Regions from separate parts of the Homo sapiens genome. Here region 1 is linked to region 2. The links are contacts of gene promoters, found by promoter capture Hi-C in human tissues and cell types (Jung and others, 2019). All regions are on one chromosome and are shown on one strand. Each heading gives the region's core, a stretch centred on a gene start or on the middle of the fragment in contact. The rest is flanking DNA. Distances are from core to core; before and after follow the strand shown.

Region 1 (3,079 bases), core at 321-2,820, 1.3 Mb after region 2:
ACACTGAAGCATGTTACTGGTTTGATTTTTTTTCTTGCCTTGGCAACTAGAGAAAGTTCAACACTAGAATTGAGAATACTTTTATTTGTATAAAACTTCTTAATGAGATTTATTAGATATTTCAAAACAATAAAATATAATTAGCTTTATTTAAATAATTTTGGCCCAGCACAGTGACTCTTGTCTGTAATCCCAACACTGTGGGAGGCCAAGGGAGGAGGATCCCTTGAGGCCAGTAGTTTGAGACCAGCCTGGGAAACATAGCAAGACCTTGTCTCTACAAAATTTTTTATAAAATAATTCACCCTGGAATGGTGGTGTGCACCTGCAGTCTCAGCTACTGGGGAGGCTGAGGTGGGAGGACCCCTTGAGCCCAGGATTTCAAGGCTGCAGTGAGCTGTGATCACACCACTGTACTCCAGCCTGGGCAACAGAATGAAGCACTGTCTTTAAAAATAAACACATACATAAATAAGTTTTATTTAAAACTTCAATATTCAATAATTTAATTTGCAGTTGGGCCTTTGATTCAAATATGTAATTTAAATGTATTATTTAAAACATTTAAAATCTGTATTTTTCCAAATTTTGCATTTAATTTAATCCACATTTGTGGGAAAATAATTTCAAACTTTATCCCCTCTTAAATATTACTTTATTCTTTAATCCTTTAGGTCATTTACTTCAAATAGAATACAAATAATGATGTTATCTTGGCTTTAATAATAAAATTAGTGATTTGTTTAAATGTAGCCAAGAAAAATCGATTTCTTAGAATAAATAAGAAATAATTTGTGAATTATGTGTATCTTTATTTTGTTCTTCACCCAAACACTGCCAGCCCATCAAATTAACATTCACATACACCCAATAATAATTAAATTCAGTCATCCTGAAACCTTGGCTACTTTAGCCATATAAACATCATGGCTTTATACATATATTTTTATTTTGTCATTTAAATATACATTTGTCAAGGTAGAAGGGTAGAGCGTATTTTATATAGTAGTTTGTTAGCTTGTGTTGTGGCTTTTAAAACATCTAGACTAGTCATAAACCTTGCTAGCAGATATAGACAAACCATCAGAATAAAGTCAAAATGTACTGGGTTATGATTCCAACACTTGGAGAAACTCTCTCTACTGGTAGATGATATTCTTGTTTACAGTGTGGACACAGGGAACATTGCTGATTTAAGGCTTCATAGAGATGCAAAACATGTACATATTTATTTGTTCTTTGGAGTATAGGCACTCTCATACTCTTTTACCCAGTGACATATAAAGGAGATTTCTCCTGTGGCTCCATAACCTAATTCTAGTTACTATTACAAGATCCTTCTCCTAGAAATGAAAGGACTTTTTTTATTTGGGGAGAATGAAATAAGAGCCACCAATCTTCTTTCTAGAGAATTCTATAGTCTCTTTTCTTGATGTTCATTTCTAGAACTCATGCATTTTTTAACCATCTTTGATTTCATTTATATCTTCTTCATATCTGATACCTCTCCAGCAGCATTCTATTTTTTAATTAATAAACTTCATTTTTAGAGTAATTTTAGGTTCACAGCAAATTGAGCAGAAAGTACAGAGTTCCTGTATACTCATTGTCCCCAAAGCACACAGCTTATCACCATCATGCACCAGAGAAATTGAGCAGAGGGTTCCCCATATACTCACTGTTCCCACCCACAACCTTTCCAGCTATCAACATCCTGTACCAAAGTGCTGCATGTCTTATAATCAATGAGCCTACGTTGATTCATTGTTATTACCCAAAGTCCATAGTTCGCATCAGAGATCACTCTTGGTGTTGTACCTTCTGTGGGTTTTGATAAATGTATAATGGCATGTAGCCACTATGGTAGTATTTTACAGAATAGTTTCACTGCCGTAAAATCTTCTTTGCTCTGTCTATTCATTGACCCCCAAACCCCCTGCAGCCCAGATCCTGGCAACCACTAATCTTTTTACTATTTCCAACTTTTTTACCTTTCCCAGAATGTCATATATTTGGAATCATACAGTTCATAATCTTTTCAGATTGGCTTATTTTACTTAGTAATATGCATTTAAGTTTCCTTCATATCTTCTCATAGCTCATTTCTTCTCATCAGCACTGAATAATGTTCTATTGTCTGATGTAGTTTGAGTACCACAGCTTATTTATACACTCACCTACTGAAGGACATGTTGGTTTCTTCCAAGTTTGGGCCATTATGAATAGGCTGCAGGTTTTTGAGTAAACATGTTTTAAATTTGTTTAGGGAAATAGCAGAGTGTGATTGCTAGGTCATACGGTAAGAGTGTGTTTAGTCTTATAAGAAAATGCCAAACAGTCTTCCATAGTGGCTGTATCATTTTACATTCCCATCTACAGTGAATAAGATTTCCTGTTGCCACACATCTTCACCAGCATTTAGTGTTGTCAGGGTTTCTGATTTTGGATTTAGACCATTCTAATAGGTGCATAGTAATTTTTTGATTGTCATTTTAATTTGAAATTCTTTAATAGCATATCATATCAAACATGTTTTCATATGCTTACATGATATTTGTATATATTATTTGATGAAGTGTCTGTTCAGGTCTTTGGACGTTTTAGTTGGGTTGTTCATTTTCTTATTATTGAGTTCTAAGAATTCTTTTTATATTTTGGATAACAGTCCTGTCTTTTCTAAATATTTTCTGTTGGCCCAAAGCTTGTTTTCTCACTCTCTTGACATTAAATTTTGCAAAGCAGAAATTTTTAATTTTAATAAAGTCCATCTTATCATTATTTCTTTCAGCAATCACATTTTCAGTGTGGTTTCTAAAAAGTTATCACCATACTCAAGATCATCTAGGTTTTCTCCTACATTATCTTTTAGGAGATTTATAGCCTTGCACTTCACATTTAGGTCTATAATTCATTTTGAGTTAATTTTTGTGAAGATGTAGGTGTGTGTCTAGGTTTGTTTTTTGTTTTGTTTTGTTTTGTTTTGTTTTTGCATGTGTATGTCCAGCTGTTCCAGCACCATTTGTTGAAAAAAACTGTCTCTGCTTCATTGTATTGCCTTTGCTGCTTTGTCAAAGATTAG
Region 2 (3,020 bases), core at 307-2,806:
TAAGAGTGAACACACCCTCTGCTTCCTCCCAATCCTTCTCCCTTCTCCTACCCAAAGATAATCCAAACAATATATTTCTCCCCCCACCCCCTTCCTGGGATGAATTCATTAGCAAGACAAAAAGTCCTTCCTATTATTATTTGGGGTGGGCCTTCTAATTGCAATGTTCAGTGAGAGAACATAGGAAACAAGTGGTCTCTCTTTTCCGAGACGGCGTCTCGCTCTGTCGCCCAGGCTGGAGTGCAGTGGCGCGATCTCGGCTCACTGCAACCTCCGCCTCCCGGGTTCCAGCAATTCTCCTGCCTCAGCCTCCCGAGTAGCTGGGATCACAGGCGCGTGCCACCACGCCCGGCTAATTTTTGTATTTTTAGTAGAGACGGGGTTTCACCATGTTGGCCATGGTGCTCTCGAACTCCTGACCTCGTGATCTGCCCACCTGGGCTTCCCAAAGTCATGGGATTACAGGCGTGAGCCACCGCGCTCAGCCAAACCGCACGTGTGGTCTCTCTTAATAGTCCTCAGATGATGGGGGCAGGGTAGGTGGAGAAAGGGGGTGACAAGAAAAGCTACTTCTTGCAGACATTTATGAGCCAATTTTGTCAGATCTTTTGCGCCAGGATAACATTCCGTAATGGACTGGACTGAAGTAGAAAAGCAATGGCTCATAGAAAACATGGTTTAAAACCAGAAGCCACGTGATGTAACTTTATTTAGTCGGGCTGCGCTTTCATCTTTCTTTTAATAACTTAGGGAGAATAAGGGGCCCCAGTGGCAAATGCAAGCTCCCCTGCCTCCCAACCCGATTCCTCTGAGAACCTGCTGCCATCTGCCTGGACCTCCTGTAAGATGGCTCCTACGCGACCACGCTACCAGAGAATCAGCTCTACGTGCCACCAACATTGCCACCAACTGTCCATAGATCGCCTGCGTGCCTCAGCCCACTGACACTCGATGCCGGACTGGGCCAGAAGGACGACCCCATATTTGATGCCTTTTTGTCTCCCTGGACCAGAGACTCCATCCTTCCCTTTCCTCCCACGCTCATTTCTTTTTCTTTAGCCCGTGTAAAGCAGCGTGGGAGAGAAAACGAATTTCTTCTCCCTGGGGTACCCCGGAGCATCACTGCAGCCCCCAACAAGCGGCGGAGCCGGCGCGCCCCGGGCGGGCGGAGAGGCTGCGGGGACGCGCGCCCTCCGCCTCCCGCAGCTGCGCGTCCGCAGCCGAGGCGCCCGGGCCCGCAGCTTCCCGGGCCTCCCCGAGAGCCGGATCCAGCCGGCAGGTCAGGCCGGCGGCTGGGGTCCCGCGGGCGGAAGTGAGAAGGGCGGCGGGGGAGGAGGCTGCTGGCTGGGAGCTGGAATTCCCTTCCCGCCTGGCGCCGCCCGGGAGAGCCCGCGCGAGGACGCCCGCCGCGCTCCGCCGGCCCTTTTTTGGCGCTGAGGGAAAGGAGAAGGGCAGGGCCGCCGCCTCGCGGGAGCGGGCCCCGGGAGGAGGGGCCGCCGGAGAGGCCGGGCGAGCGCGGGCGGCCCTCACCTCGCCGCTCCTCCCGGGCCGCCATCCCTCGGCGCCCCGCCCGGAACCGGCGCGCGCGTAGGGGCTGGGAGGCCGGCGCGCAGATCTGGCGGTGAGCGCTGCCGCCCCGGGGCCCCCAGCCATGTCGGCCGAGGAGATGGTGCAGATCCGCCTGGAGGACCGCTGCTACCCGGTGAGCAAGAGGAAGCTCATCGAGCAGAGCGACTACTTCCGCGCCCTCTACCGCTCCGGCATGCGCGAGGCCCTGAGCCAGGAGGCCGGCGGCCCGGAGGTGCAGCAGCTGCGCGGCCTCAGCGCGCCGGGCCTGCGGCTGGTGCTGGACTTCATCAACGCCGGCGGGGCCCGCGAAGGCTGGCTCCTGGGCCCGCGCGGGGAAAAGGGCGGCGGGGTGGACGAGGACGAGGAGATGGATGAGGTGAGCCTGCTGTCCGAGCTGGTGGAGGCGGCCTCCTTCCTGCAGGTCACGTCCCTGCTGCAGCTGCTGCTGTCCCAGGTGCGGCTCAATAACTGCCTGGAGATGTACCGCCTGGCGCAGGTGTACGGGCTGCCCGACCTGCAGGAGGCCTGCCTGCGCTTCATGGTCGTCCACTTCCACGAGGTGCTGTGCAAGCCCCAGTTCCACCTCCTGGGGTCTCCTCCCCAAGCTCCAGGGGATGTCAGCCTGAAGCAGAGGCTGAGGGAGGCCCGGATGACTGGGACTCCTGTCCTCGTGGCCCTCGGGGACTTCCTGGGGGGACCCCTGGCCCCTCACCCCTACCAGGGGGAGCCCCCGTCCATGCTCAGGTACGAGGAGATGACTGAGCGTTGGTTCCCGCTGGCCAACAACCTTCCTCCCGACCTGGTCAATGTCAGGGGCTATGGGTCTGCCATCCTGGACAACTACCTCTTCATAGTGGGCGGGTACAGGATCACTAGCCAGGAGATCTCCGCTGCGCATTCCTACAACCCCAGCACCAACGAGTGGCTCCAGGTGGCCTCCATGAACCAGAAGAGGTAAGCACCCCGGCAGAGTGCTGCTGCCTTCTCATTCATTCACTTGTTCATTAGTTCATTACCCCAGTGTTTACTGAGCCAGTAAATAGGGGAGGGTGTGCTGTGGTGGAAATGACATCTTCAGGAATGTTGTTGGCCTTGGCGCTGGCAAAATTCCCAATGAACTAAGAAATTGCGAAGAGGACGTCCCCAGTGAGGTCAAGAAGTGGAGTGGTTTTTTGGCAGGTATTGTGCCTTTAGGTGAAACTGCTTTCTTTGCCTCTGTTCTTGTGAAAAAAGATGTTGTGGTTTCCTACAAGAATACTTTAAAAGAAAATTGCCCCTTAATTTTTAAAAAATTTGTCTTAGTTTTTAGGATTTGATCCTGATGATAATGATACACTGGACAGTAACCTGTAACACTGACTTTGGGGGATTTTTTTCTGATGTCAGTGACTGTGACAACAGAGTCTTCCACACTGTGATACCCATCATGATCAAGAGATAATCACTGGAAA

What was found. Contacts are between HindIII fragments. The study calls those that stand out against the background at their distance.
Region 1: a contact is called between a fragment that was not itself captured here and the fragment with the promoter of MANSC4 in region 2, in 1 of the 25 tissues and cell types used here (dorsolateral prefrontal cortex).

The regions. Positions count from the first base shown.
Region 1 is chr12:29,122,110-29,125,188 of GRCh38, forward strand. No RefSeq gene overlaps it. Among named protein-coding and RNA genes, the nearest start is that of FAR2, 26 kb to the right of the region's middle. The HindIII fragment of the contact is 4,385 bases long and covers 1-3,079 here.
Region 2 is chr12:27,778,680-27,781,699 of GRCh38, forward strand. It overlaps MANSC4 (MANSC domain containing 4), which reads right to left and starts at 1,557. Exons shown (of 4, transcript NM_001146221.5): 1 at 1,531-1,557. KLHL42 (kelch like family member 42) reads left to right here and starts at 1,554. Exons shown (of 3, transcript NM_020782.2): 1 at 1,554-2,523. The coding sequence starts at 1,652. RefSeq lists silencers at 1,156-1,375, 1,396-1,705 and an enhancer at 1,571-2,070. The HindIII fragment of the contact is 9,315 bases long and covers 1-3,020 here.